Linked DNA regions of Homo sapiens: region 2 is linked to region 1. Evidence: promoter capture Hi-C in human tissues and cell types (Jung and others, 2019). All regions are on one chromosome and are shown on one strand. The core of a region is centred on a gene start or on the middle of the fragment in contact, and the rest is flanking DNA. Distances in the headings are between cores, read along the strand shown.

The links. Contacts are between HindIII fragments. The study calls those that stand out against the background at their distance.
Region 2: a fragment that was not itself captured here is called in contact with the fragment with the promoter of ETFA in region 1 in 2 of the 25 tissues and cell types used here (heart left ventricle and lymphoblastoid cells).

Annotation. Positions count from the first base shown.
Region 1 is chr15:76,307,785-76,315,317 of GRCh38, forward strand. It overlaps ETFA (electron transfer flavoprotein subunit alpha), which reads right to left and starts at 3,685. Exons shown (of 12, transcript NM_000126.4): 1 at 3,566-3,685. The coding sequence starts at 3,604. RefSeq lists enhancers at 2,937-3,437, 3,438-3,938, 4,148-4,197, 4,258-4,307 and a cis regulatory region at 5,869-6,290. The HindIII fragment of the contact is 24,969 bases long and covers 1-7,533 here.
Region 2 is chr15:76,858,036-76,864,628 of GRCh38, forward strand. It overlaps SCAPER (S-phase cyclin A associated protein in the ER), which reads right to left. Exons shown (of 32, transcript NM_020843.4): 3 at 4,381-4,498. Among named protein-coding and RNA genes, the nearest start is that of SCAPER, 44 kb to the right of the region's middle. The HindIII fragment of the contact is 5,107 bases long and covers 1-3,897 here.

The DNA of each region.
Region 1 (7,533 bases), core at 2,435-4,934:
CATCTTAACCATTTTTAAGTGTTAAGTGTTAACTATATGCACATCGTTAACAGTTTATGGTAATCTTTTAACTGTAATTCCTAACTTTATTTTTTTAAATATGGTTTTGGAAATGTATCCTCTTCCTAAATGCATTAATGGTTAGCTACAGAACATTTTTTTTTTAATTTCAAGAGTGGGGACTTGAGATAAGCTATTTTGACTTTGTGATATCACAAACATATATATGTAAACAAACAGGAGTCAGATTGAATGGGCCCCACTTTACAAACATGAGACAACTTCAGCATAAGGTAGAAATGTATTATCCTAAATAAGGATCCATGTATCCATAAATCCATAAATATGCAAGAAGATAATGTTCTTCCTTATAGTAGAATAACTAAAAAATGTACGAAGGTATCATGGAAATAGAAAATCACCATTTTGCATCATAGTAATCATTTCTCAGGCAAAAATCATCAACAGATGCTAAGACTGGGTAAAAGTCTGATGAGAAATAGGACAGTCACATAGTCTCAATGAATCGCCTCACAAATTAGTTAAAAATTACAAAAGGAGGAGTATTAACTTGACAGTGGAGAAACCTGGCAAACAACACTTTGGCTAAGTAACTAAAGTCAGCATTACCACTAATGGGATAAACCAACATTAAGTACCTGCTAATATGATGCACGGGGAACACAATACCACTTTTGTGATATTCCCACCAAGAATACATGACCTGAATCTAATCATGAGGAAACACCAGACAAACCCAAATTGAGTGACAGTCTGGAAAATAGAAGGCCTGTACTCTTCAAATACACCAATGTCATCAAACCCAAAGGAAGGCTGAGGAACCTTTCTAACAGAGTAAAGAGACATGAAAACCACTTGCAGGACATCTAGAGTATCTTAGACCAGAATAAGGAAAATTGCTATAAACTGTACTAATGGGACAACTGGCAAAATTGAACATCCATAGATTAGAAAACAGTATTTTATGGTGAAACTTCCAGATATTGCCAATTACAGTGTAGTTAGAAAGTGAACCTCTTTGTTCTTTTAAAATATCACTCAATTATTTAGGAGTAAAGGGCACATTTGCAACATACTTTCAAATGGTTCAGAAAGATAGTATTATGTATATATGTGGAAAGATAAAGCAAATGTGTCAAACTGCTAACATGCTGGGAAAACCAGGGGAAGGGTTTTGAGATTTCTTTGTACTATTCTTGCAACTTTTCTATAAGTGCAACTATTTCAAAATTTAAAAAGTTAAATACAGGTATATGTCCCTATTAATATATGGGTCCACTTTAGAAGTGTTGCCACCATTTCTTTTATGCTAGAAATCCAAATCTCTCCAACATTCTTAATGACTTTAAAACAGCTATTCTAGGCTGGGCGCGGTGGCTCACGCCTGTAATCCCAGCACTTTGGGAGGCCAAGGCGGGCGGATCATGAGGTCAGGAGATCGAGACCATACCGGCTAACACAGTGAAACCCCCGTCTCTACTAAAAATACAAAAAAATTAGCGGGGCGTGGTGGCGGGTACCTGTAGTCCCAGCTACTCAGGAGGCTGAGGCAGGAGAATGGCGTGAACCCGGGAGGCGGAGCTTGCAGTGAGCTGAGATCGCGCCACTGCACTCCAGCCTGGGCGACAGAGCGAGACTCCGTCTCAAAACAAACAAACAAACAAACAAAAAAAACAGCTATTCTACTTAGCTTGACTTCAAATTTTAAAAATAAGTCAAGGTCAAAGTCTTTGGCAAACCACAATGAATATCTGGAAGTAATGTCTATACACATTAGCCAACGATGTGGATAGTAAAAATTACTTAATCATTCCATTTTTTTCTGTTAGCTCTACAAAATTACTGAGTCCTAAATTCCATCCCCCACCACAATTATAATTTCACTTAGGCCAGACTTGTAATCTGTCCACAAAACTGTTTTCCAACTGCTGCATAGAGCAGCATTCTTCTGGCTCAGGTTCCTGGAATTTCCCCAAATTCATGATTTTCACTTGTTTATGTCTAGATCCCCAACCGGGAGAAAACATGTCCTGAGGGGAAGACAGGACACTAACCTGAAAGACATGGGTTTGAACTCTTTAGGGGAGGGGAGGGTCAGAACTTTTTATTAAACAAGGAATACGCACAAGAAAAAAGATGTCTAAGGCCAGGTGCGGTAGCTCAGGCCTGTAATTCCAGGACTTTGGGAGGCCGAGGCAGGTGGATCACTTGAGGACAAGAGTTCGAGACCAGCCTGGGTAACATGGGGAAACCCCGTCTCTACAAAAAAAAAAAAAAAAAAAAAAAAAAAATTAGCCAGGCGTGATGATGCGCACCTGTGATCCCAGCTTCTCGGGAAGCTGAGGTGGGAGAATCGCTTGAACCTGGGAGGCGACGGTTGCAGTGAGCCCATATCGTGCCACTGCACTCCACTCCAGCATGGGAAACAGAGCCAGACCTTGTCTCTTAAACAAACAAACAAACAAACAAACAAAAGTCTAATGTCTACAGACATCTAGAAAGAGCTCCAGCTATGCCTCAGAGAGAAAAATCCCAGGAGTGGATGGGAAAATATCCATGCCCAGAAAAAAAAAAAAAAAAAAAAAAAGGAGAAAAGGTACAAACCATCAGGTAAGTTTCTGACCCAAGTTTACCAATCTTGTTTCTCATTTCACCTAAATGTAAACTAGGAAAACTACACAATCCACAATATAAATTATTGTTACTTGACTTGTGACTGGTCAGTCTCCAAATACTCCTTTCCCACAGCATGAGAAGGAAAATATGTTTCCTATCAGTCCTTCTCACAACAGAAGAGAGAAATGTGGTTTGTCACTAATGAAACACTGAAAATGTACCACTGTCACCAGTTAACCTAATCTACAATCTGCTGGTTAAAAGCAGGTCAGCCTGAAGCATATAAAAAGACGTCTGCCTTTCAAAACTGGCTAAAGCTGTCAAATCGGATCGCAGGTTTTACAAATACAATCACCTAAATTCAGCCCTGCTCCATAAACCAGAAAGCAGAACCAGCTTCCATAACTGGCCACGCAGCCTCCCACCCCACCCCACCCCCGCCCTTGACAGTGAGTGGGTCGGAGTAGCCACGATGCGCCCAAAGTGTTTAATTCTTCCAGAAATGCCGGCCTCCGGGAGGAATCTAGGTTTGAAACTTTCCCCAACAGGGCATTCCCCGGTGACATTTTGCTCCCTCGGGTGTGGAGCAAGTGTGGAGGACCTGGCGGCCCGAAAGTGCCCAGAGTGACCGACAAAGGTGGGAAACGGCAGGGCAGAGAGTGGGCCAGAAGAAGGGGCAGCAGACGCGCAAATTCACATCATTCGGGGTCACCCTGACCCCAAACCTCTGACTTCTGCCCCGAACTGGCGTTCCGCAGGGAGTCCAGGGTAGGCCCCAGAACTTTGGACCCAAGTCCCAGGCGGGGACCGGCCTGCGGGCGCGAGGGCTGGTCGAATCTGAGGGGGCCAGTGATCTTTGCAAGACCCCATAGGGACGGCGGGTTGACGGGGGGCCGTCCCTGGGTTCGCCTTCCCAGTCCGGACTCACCGCCCGCCGGAGCTGCCCCGGAGCCGCCGCTCGGAACATGGTCTCCGCTTCCGCCGCAACCTCGGCCTTACAGCAGCCCCGTGCCCGGCCAACTGGCGCCGCCTCAGCCAGTCACCTAATGCTCGCGAGACGCGCGAACGAGATAAGACGCCCTAGGCCGGGAGCACGAGCCCGCGGTTTCCGCCTGCCCATTGGGCGGCTGCGCAGCCAATAGACGGCGGGAAGTTAGGGGCTAGACTGGGAAGTGGGGCAAAGGTGAGGCTATTCCCCGGGGACCTTCGAGTAAGCCCGGGCCGCGGAGCGGCAGAGACAAAGCTGGCCACCCGCTGATGACCGAGCTCAGACTGTACTGTCTCACAGCCCCGCAATGGTCAGCACTGCTAGAGTGAACTTCAAAACTGAGCTGACCTCGGGGTAAGGTACGAGTGGAGCCTTGCCAATTCCAATTAGATACCTTTCCTATATGCCCCTATTTCCCCCTGTATTTCCCCATGGTAGCAATTGTCACATGGGTTGTAATAACCTAAGTACTTGTCTGTGTCACCCATCTGACTGAAGATCTGTAAGGGCAGAAAGTATGCCCTTTTTTTTTTTTTTTTTTTTGAGAGAGAGAGAGTCTCCCTCTGTCACCCTGGCTGGAGTGCAGTGGCGCGAGCTCAGCTCACTGAAAGCTCCGCCTCCCGGGTTCACTCCATTCTTCTGCCTCAGCCTCCCGAGTAGCTGGGACTACAGGCGCCCGCCACCACGCCCAGCTAATTTTTTTGTATTTTTAGTAGAGACGGGGTTTCACAGTGTTAGGCAGGATGGTCTCGATCTCCTGACCTCGTGATCCGCCCGCCTCGGACTCCCAAAGTGCTGGGATTACAGGCGTGAGCCACCGCGCCCGGCCAGTATGCCCTACTTTTAAATTTTGTGTCTACCTGCAACACCTAGCACAATGCCTGGTCCATACTAGGCATTCAATCAGTATGTGTTGAATGAATAAGCAAATGAATAAATGACTGCTAATGAGTCTGGACTTTAACACGAAATTTTTAAGAGGGAAGTGGTATGTTCAGAAATTGTCTCAATTCCCAATTCAGCAACAACCTACCTTTCCAATGTTATCTAGTCTATCAACAAATCCCGTTGACTCTACCTTCAAAAGATAACCAGAATCCAGCAATATCCTCCAACACCCCTTTGCTCCTCTGCTGGTATCACCTTCACTCAGGACCCTGTCCTCTCTCGCCTGGATCATTGCAAAGCCTCCTAACTGGTCTTTCTGTTTCTGCCCATGTTTCCAGAAGCCTCTTCTCCAAACTGATGGACTGATCATGACCTCTGCTCAAAGCCCTATGGTGGCTCCCTCTCCTCCCACTGCCCTCTTCTCTCACTGTTCCCCAGATACATAGGCCTTCTTGAGCACACAAGCCTGCTCCTCTCAGAGTTTTGCACTCTGGCTCTTCCCTCTGCCTGAAATGGCCTTCTCTTGTTACCCGCGTGGCGTACTTCCTCACTTCATTCAGGTCTCTGCTCAAAAAACACATTTGCAGAAAGGCCGGCCTTAGCCTCTCCACCTAAAATAGCACCCATGCCACTCCCAGACGCCCTATCACCTTGTTTGATTTTTTTTCTTGGCATTTATCACTGCCTAACAGGATGCACATGTTTGTTTATTGCTGATCTCACTGCATTGGAGTGTAAATTCCCTGAAGCAAGAGCTTTGTCTGAACTAACAAGCACTCTAAGGGCCTTGCGCTTTTGCTCTTCCCTCTGTCTGAAATTCCCTTCCCCATCTGACAGCCCTCTTTAAAACCCAGATCAAGTGACAATTCTTTTGTTCTGTTTAAGACAAGGTCTCACTCTGTTTCCCAGGCTGGAGTGCGGTGGTGCCATCACAGCTCACTGCAGTCTCGAACTCCTGGGATCAAGCAATCTTCCTGCCTCAGCCTCCCAAGTAGCTGGGACTACAGTCATGTGCCACCATGCCCAGCTATTTTTTTTTGTAGGGGCAGGGTTACCCAGGGCTGGTCTCGAACTCCTGGCCTCAAGTGATCTTCCCACCTTGGCCTCTCAAAGTACTGGGATTACAGACATGAGCCACCACGCCTGGCCCAAGTGACATTTCTTTTGTAAGCTCTTTCTCAATTCTGCAGGATGAATTAATCCTTTCCTCTTCTTCACTCTTGTAGCTCTATGAACAAGGAGGTGAGGACCCATCTTAAACTTAAGTTGCACCCACTTCGAACACGTCTGAACTCATGTTGCCGACAGAGCTGTGGACCCCTGTCCCCCAGTCAATCTGCCTGTGGGAGGGGCAATTTAGTATTCCATGTCTCACTGCATTTACCTCCTAACCAGTCCCACACTGGACTAGAATCTGAGACCTATGGGAGTGGAAGGAAGAGGGAAGGGTACTTTTAGTAAAAACAGAAAAGGATATTTTACTAAAAACCATATAAAAAACTGGGATACAAACTAACCTCCTTCCCTACCTCCCCACCCATGACAAAGCGAAATACAAGGGGAGAGCGGCTGCCCCGCCCTGCCCCCACTGGGCAGATTCAACAGCTCCCAGGCTTGGGCAAATCAGCAGCAGCTGTTCACCCCAGAGTCTCGTTGCCCCTGGGGGTTCCTGGTGGAGCAGTTCAGAGCAGAGGGAGAGGCTAAAAATGGGCAAAGTCTGTGACACCTGACCAGACCTGTTCTGATCACACATGAAACGCCCCCTGAGGCTTTGGGATGTATCAGGGTTCTACAATCACAACCAGGTTATGTACCACAGAAATGTGTGTGCTAAGACATTTCTATTAGAAGATTTTCCCTAGAGGCATATGACTTTCCCACTCCATTAGGAGCCGCTTTGGTGGCAGGACCTATGGTTTCCTTTTATTTACTTATTTTTATTTTATTTATTTTGGAGACGGAGTCTCACTCTGTCACCCAGGCTGGAGTGCAGTGGCGCGATCTCGGCTCACTGCAACCTCCACCTCCCCTCAGTTTCAATGGATTCTCTTGCCTTAGGCTCCCAAGTAGCTGGAATTACAGGTGCCCACCACCATGCCCAGCTAATTTTTGTATTTTTAGTAGAGATGGGGTTTCACCATGTTGGTCAGGCTGGTCTCAAAGCCCTGACCTCAGGTGATCTGCCTGCCGTGGCCTCCCAAAGTGCTGGGATTACAGGCGTGAGCCACCGTGTCCAGCCTATTTATTTGCTTCTTATTTTTAGATGTTCAGCAAACATTTGTAGAAATATGTGTCCAATGGGCTAGGTGCAATGGCTCACACCTGTAATCCTAGCAATTTGGGAGGCCGAGGCGGGCGGATCACTTGAGGTCAGGAGTTCAAGACCAGCCTGGTCAACATGGCGAGACCCTCCCCCCACCTTCACTACTAAAAATACAAAAATTAGCCGGGTGTGGTAGCATGTTCTTATAATACCACCTACCCCTGCAGCTAAGGCATGAGAATCACTTGAACCTGGGAGGCAGAGGTTGCAGTGAGCCAAGATTACACCACTGTACTCCAGCCCGGATGACAGAGCAAGACTCCATCTCAAACAAAAAAAAAAAAAAAAAAAAGAAAGAAAGTAAATATTTGTCCAAAGAAGAAAGGGCAGAAAAGAGAGGGTGGAGGAAGGAGGATTCAAGGACTACCACAGTCAACCCTTGAAGATGACTCCAGCATATTTGGAGCAACACCTCTTTCTTCTCCACAGGCCAATTTCAGGAGCAGCTCCTCCAGGATTCCTGCTGGAAACTTAGAAGAGAAAGGTCCCTGGGACCAACTACAGCCCTAGCTGCTGCAACTTTCTGGGGGTCACAATGGTACTTATCGTCTCCTTCCTCAGTATCCATTCTAAATCTCCCCCTCCCTCAGCTAGCACCTCCCCTGGTTTGAGTGGCTAATGCCTCCATCCTGCCTCGTGGACTGAAGATCTCAACCCCTGACCAGCATGCCCTTCCCAAGCCTGTTTATTGTCATAA
Region 2 (6,593 bases), core at 94-2,593, 550 kb after region 1:
CTGTTCATGGTCAGTATAAACCGATATAATTAAAACAACAACAACAACAAATTTCCAAAGTCCCAGAGACTGCTATTATTGAATACCTTTCTCTGAATAGGAATAAATCAACATCTTAAAGAAGTCAGATACTCTGACAACTTTTAAAAACAAAGTCCAGTTACTGGTACTCCTCAACTTGTATATAAATCTGGAAATAGTTCTTTAAGTTCAAATTTCATTTCAACAATAAAATTAAGACTATATGTTTTCTATATAAAACCCCAATATTTTGTTTTATCTGATATATGAAATGCACAATTTCACTGCGAAAAGTGAGGTTTCAGTTCTTTATATTTTTTCACTCATTCTTTTTTATAAGAAAGACACCAACTACTGTTTTGTAATTACTATTCTCAACAGCAATTCAAAACAGAAATAAAATTCTTTTTTTTTTCTTTTATTTTAGGTACAGGGGTACATGTGCAGGTTTGCTATACAGGCAAATTACGTTTCACAGGGGTTTGGTGCACAGATTATTTTGTCACTCAGGTAATTAGCATAAGTAACTGATAGGTAGTTTTTCAATCCTCACTCTCCTCCCACCCTCTACCCTCAAGTAGGCCCTGTTGTCTTTTGCTCCCTTCTTTGTGTCCATGTATATGTACTCAATGTTTAGTTCCCACTTATAAATGAGAACGTGCAGTTTTTGGTTTTCTGTTCTTGCATTAGTTCACTTAGGATAATGATCTCCAGCTCCATCCATATTGCTGCAAATAACATGATTTCATTCTTTTTATGGCTACGTAGTAGTCCATGGTGTATATATGTACCACATTTTCTTTATCCAGTCTACCATTGATGGCCATTTAGGTTGATTCCATGTTTTTGCTGTTGAAAGTAGTGCTGTGATGAACATACACATACATGTATCTTTATGGTAGAACAATTTATATTCTTTGAGTATATACTCAGTAATTAGACTGCTGGGTCAAATGGTAGTTCTGTTTTCAACTCTTTGAGTAATCACCAAAAGTGCTTTCCACAATGGCCAAACTAATTTACATTCTCACCAGCAGTGTGTAAGTGTTCCTTTTTCTCTGCAACCTCTCCAGCATTTCAAAATAGGAATAAAATTCTATAATGTATAACAGAATAATTTTCCTTTCTGCAAAGTAATTTTGGGGCCAGGTCCCCTGAAGCAATATAAGTGAGCCATAACACACAGGTACCTAACTATCAACTTATCTGACATAAGTGGGACACCCTCACTGTTCCACCAGGGGTAAAGGGAGAGAATGCTACACTAACCTACAGAGCCACATCCTTTAATTATAAAAAACAATCTACCAGCAAGTTTTCTTAGAATATCCAGCAGAAAAACCAGCTTAGAATAAGCACAAGCTGTAATGTACCAGCAGGTTTTTAGAATATCCAGCAGAAAAACCAGCTTAGAAACAGAAATAATACAAAGCAGAGAACTTTTTTTAAGTGGAATTATCCTCAGAAACACCTAAGTATATATTGTAGTCATAAAACAAGAACAAGCTGCTATTAAAAACTTAGTCTTTAATTGCCTATATGTGGCAAAGTTTTAACAATATAAAATAATCCTTAACAAAAATTGTAAATGTTAATATTCTTCTTTTGTCATCATTACTACAGATATTCAGAAAGTTCTAATTATCTGTGCTTACAGTTTTTTGGGTTTTGTTTTGTTTTGTTTTGTTTTTTTGAGACAGAGTCTCACTCTGTCCCCCAGGCTGGAGTGCAGTGGCGCGATCTCGGCTCACTGCAACCTCTGCCTCCCAGGTTCAAGCCTCCCGGGTAGCTAGGATTACAGGCACCCACTGCCATGCCCCGCTAATTGTTTTGTATTTTAGTAGAGACGAGGTTTCACCATGTTGCCCAGGCTGGTCTCGAACTCCTGAGCTCAGGCAATCCACCTGCCTCAGCCTCCCAAAGTGCTAGGATTACAGACGTGAGCCACTGCGCCCAGCCTGTGCTTACAGTTTTATTGTTACAATAGTCACAAATGAAGCTTTAAAATTGTACTGGCCAATTATTTATGTTCTTGTATGAAAAATCGGGTTATGTACAGATGTTTGATTATTATATTTTCTTTCCTTTGTTTTTTGAATAGAAACAACTTTAATAGAAACACCTTTGAACTATTTTGTGTTCAGAATAACCCATGGAAAATGAGAGAATACAATTTCATATAAAAATATTTATAATATACAGAATTTTTTTTACTTTTGTAATAAATCATGTTGATATGTACTTTTATCAAAGAAATGAAGTAATAGCTCCTTGTGGAAAGATTAGCTGTTAAGAAGCTGAATTTCAAAAGATAAATCCAATTTTCCCCTCTATTTGATAGTTTTTGTGATTCAAAACAATGTTCTCTAAAAATAGCTAGGAAAACTGAGAAAGAAAAGCTACAGGGGAAGACAGGTCCAAGCAGGCATTTAAAAATACTATAATGCCTCCATAATTAAAATAGTATGACACACATGAATTAGGTAAACAGACTAGTAGAATGGAATACATATGGAAATTCACTCTACAGAAAAGGTGGAATCAAAAATAACTGGGGCAAAGATAAACTTTATAACAAGTTATGCTGAGGCAACTTGTTAGCTATAAGGAAAAAGATAAAATTAGATCCGTACCACACACTATATGTAAGAATAAACTACAAATGGATCAGAGGACCAAATGTAAAAAAGATAAAGATTTAAAACATTCTTTAAAGAAAATTTTAAATAAAATAAAATGTAAACATAAATTTAAGAGAATAAAACAGGTGAATTCTTGTTTAGCTTGAAACATCTTGTGTAAAGATGTTCTCAAAGAATGGAAACATGATTAGAACATGTAAGGAACAGGAGCCAAGTTAAAGGGTCTCCCATTTGAAAAATTGAGAAGAATTTAAGCATCAAAATAGAGTAACTGTACCCCATTAAATACCATAAGAAGCCATGAGTCCACACAAACTGAAAATATAAATACATACATAAATACATACATACATAAAAATAAAGAGGAGATGGTAAAGCTCTTCCTTATATTAGAAGGCTAACAAATGCAGAAGGAATGATGGAGTTGTTAACAAATCACCACTTTGCAACCACCAGAGGTATAACATAAGCCAAGGATTATCAATAGAAGCTAAAAAGTAGTGAGTGTACTGTTTCAACAAAAACAGGATATTTACATAGTTTCAAACTATCTTACCACAAATTACTCATTAGTTACATAGGAAAAAATTAGTTACTTTACAGTAGAGAAATTTGGCAGACAACACTTAAAGCAATTGATTAAATTAACGAGACAGTTATCACGAACCTCCTCTGATAACTGAAAAGGACACATCATTTCTATAGAATTCCTACTAAAAACACCTACCTGAATCTAGTCATGAAAAGATACCAGACAAACCTAACTGTGAGGAATATTCTACAAGCTCTCAGAAAATTTCAAAGTGAGGTATGCCAACCTCCTGTCTTCTGTATCTCTATCCAATCTTCAACATCCTCAAAACAGTGGCTTCACACTGCCTCTAGCCATTAAAGGGAGGGTAGAGATGATTTTTTTTCTTGTTCAAATAATAATAATGAGAACTAAAGAAATATCTTCTATTTTCTAAAGTATTACATTAAATTGCACCTAATTATGGTAAATATGATTTTTAAAAAACCTCCTTTTATTTTTATAAGAATTTAATAAAAGAAAAAACCTAAATGTATTAGTCCATTTTCATACTGCTTATAAAGAACTGTCTGAAACCAGGTAATTTATAAAGGAAAGGGCTCTAATTGACTCACAGTTCAGCATGGCTGGGGAGGCCTCAGGAAACTTGCAATCATGGTGGAAGGAGAAGGGCAAGCAAGGCGCCTTCTTTACAAGGCAGCAGGAAGGAGAAGTACCGAGCTTAGGGGAAAGAGCCCCTTATAAAACCATCACATTTCATGAGAACTCACTCACTGTCACGAGAACAGCATGGGGGAAACCACCCCCATGATCCAATTACCTCCACTTGGTCTCTCCCTTGACACGTGGGGATTATGGGGATTATAATTCAAGGTGAGATTTGGGTGGGGAGACAAAGCCTAAACATATCACTAAATCTCTTATCACTTTAACAACCCCTAATCTGCTGGTCATAATAACACAATAAACCCAATTTCAAATTTCACTATTATCTGAAAAAGCAAAACTAACAATAAGGCTTTTATAAAACCATGTGTGTATAAAAGCAACAAAAAAGTATTTCTTATTTAACATACTAATCAGCCCTAGAAGTCTAATTGCAAACAGTTTTCAGTCTATCTCTTTAGGACTAAATACACCCTCCTTATTTACAACAAAAATGAAACTAATTTTTTAAATACATACCATCATCATCTTTGCTTTCTAGTGGAACACTCCAAGCTATTAGGTTTCTTGCTGTACGACCCTCCTCTGCAACTATTCTCCTTACTTTGTCATGACTATTGGAGCGCTGGAATGAAGCCTATGTATGGAAAAGATGGTACTTATTAGATTATTAGATAAGTCAAAATATATATTTAACAAAGTCATTATTTCTCACATTTTTCTCAGAAAGAAAACACTTAAAACTAATTTGGGATGTGGTGGGTGGTTAAACAGAGAAAAGGAAGTCACAAGTCTTTTTTAGATCTAAAAACACTGAGTTTTGTAACTCTAAAAAATAAACAAATTATTTAAATAATAAATATAATCTAAGGTTTGAAAAAGTGGCCTAAAGAGCACCAACACTGCTGTGGACTAATATCTGCACCATCCCTTACATATCAACAAGTCCAAGTGTGAAAGAGACCAGTTTTCACAAACATCCTATATATTTCCCCTAAAAGACCTCTTCAGCATAAAATATTTTGGAAAACGCTTTTTTTAATTCTCTAGAGATTGCGCTAAAGTAAGTCAACATTCCATTTTTAGCTACATAATTTTATCTCCAAGTTATCAGGATTCAAATAATAATTGCTGTTAACAGGTAAATTTAAATTGCAATTTTTAAAACTCAAACTATTGCACAGAACATACGTAATTTCTTGCTTGCTCTAGCCCTGCCTGGCCTAAGAACACGGGCCTAAGATTCAGCCCCACCAACACCCTGTGCCAGCTGGGAGCCAGGTCCAGTAAAATAAAGGAAATTGCCTCCCCACTAATGAATGTCATATCAAAATAGTCTGTTTTTATAAGCCAAGTATCTATGAGAAGAAAGAGATCATAAAACACCCATGTGAACACGAGGATGCAGCCTCCTTATCTAATCCTTAAATCTGTGTGGGAAACCTGCCTCTTTGTGAAACAAGTTCACCACTGGGCCAGCCCAAAATCCCAGTCCAATTAGTAGGTGCCTCCCTGCCCTCCTATAGTTCTTGCCAGCCTGGACTTTTAGCATTCCTGGAATCCTAAAGCGCAATACATTTAACGAGGCAATTACTATGTGCAAAAGCATCAAGTAAGAGACTGAGGAGAATATAAAGAAAAATATAAATATATAAAGTATTGTGCTTGTCCTCAAAGAGCTAACAATCCAAGTAAATGAAGCAAACATGTAAGAGTAAAAAATAATATATGAATTAACAAGTATGGTAGGTAGTCTTCAAAGATGCCTCCCTTGGCCCCAGAAAACCACACCTGCTGGTGTTCATGCCCTCATGTAATCCACTCCCCGTGAATATGCCTCTGTAACTTGCTTTCTGACCAATAAAATGCGGCAGAAGGGACACTGCATAACTTCTGAGACTAGGTCATCAGAAGCTTTGCAGCCTCCACCTGAGTCTCTTAGAATGCTCCCTCTTAGGGCAGTCACTCTTAAAATCCAGCTGTCATGCCATGAGAAGCCCAAGCCACAAGTAGAGAGACCACACATGGGCAGCACTCTGGTTGACAGGCCCTAGCTGAATTCCCAGAGGACAGCATCCTCTACCCACTGTGTGAGTGAGCCATTTTGGACATTCCAGCCCAGCTGAGCCCCTAGAAAACTGCTGCCATGCCAGTACCCAAGCCAACATCACATCACAAAAATCACCCAGTCAACTCACAGAATGAGATAATAGGAACTAGATGAATGCACCCTAACACACAATATACACACCTGGATCTATTTCTATACAGATATTAAAAACCGTGAGTTTATACTGATTGATTTCAATCCTAAGCCACGGGGCTCATTTTAGCCTTTCGCTTTGCTTGTCTGAAACTTCTTTCTCCAACATAAGATCCCCAGTTTTCATTATCTACAACTTATTTACTTATCTGTTCAATTCTAATATACACATAAAGTAGTTTCAAAGTTGCTAACCCATACTCCTATGAGAAACACATTTACTAACTACATTACAGCATTTACGTATGGTTCTTATCTTTAACCTTACAATATCCAAAGTACTGTTTGCCAAAATCATGTAATTAGTTCTCATCTTCACCTGGGAGTATGTTACTATTTGCCTTCCAGTTTGGATTCTCCCCACCCACTGGTTAATTTTTACTCTTTTGGGGAATATGTGAAGAAAAAGCAATACATTATTTTCAAATGAAGGAAATTAATGAGTAGCATCACTTCAGGGAAAGAAAAA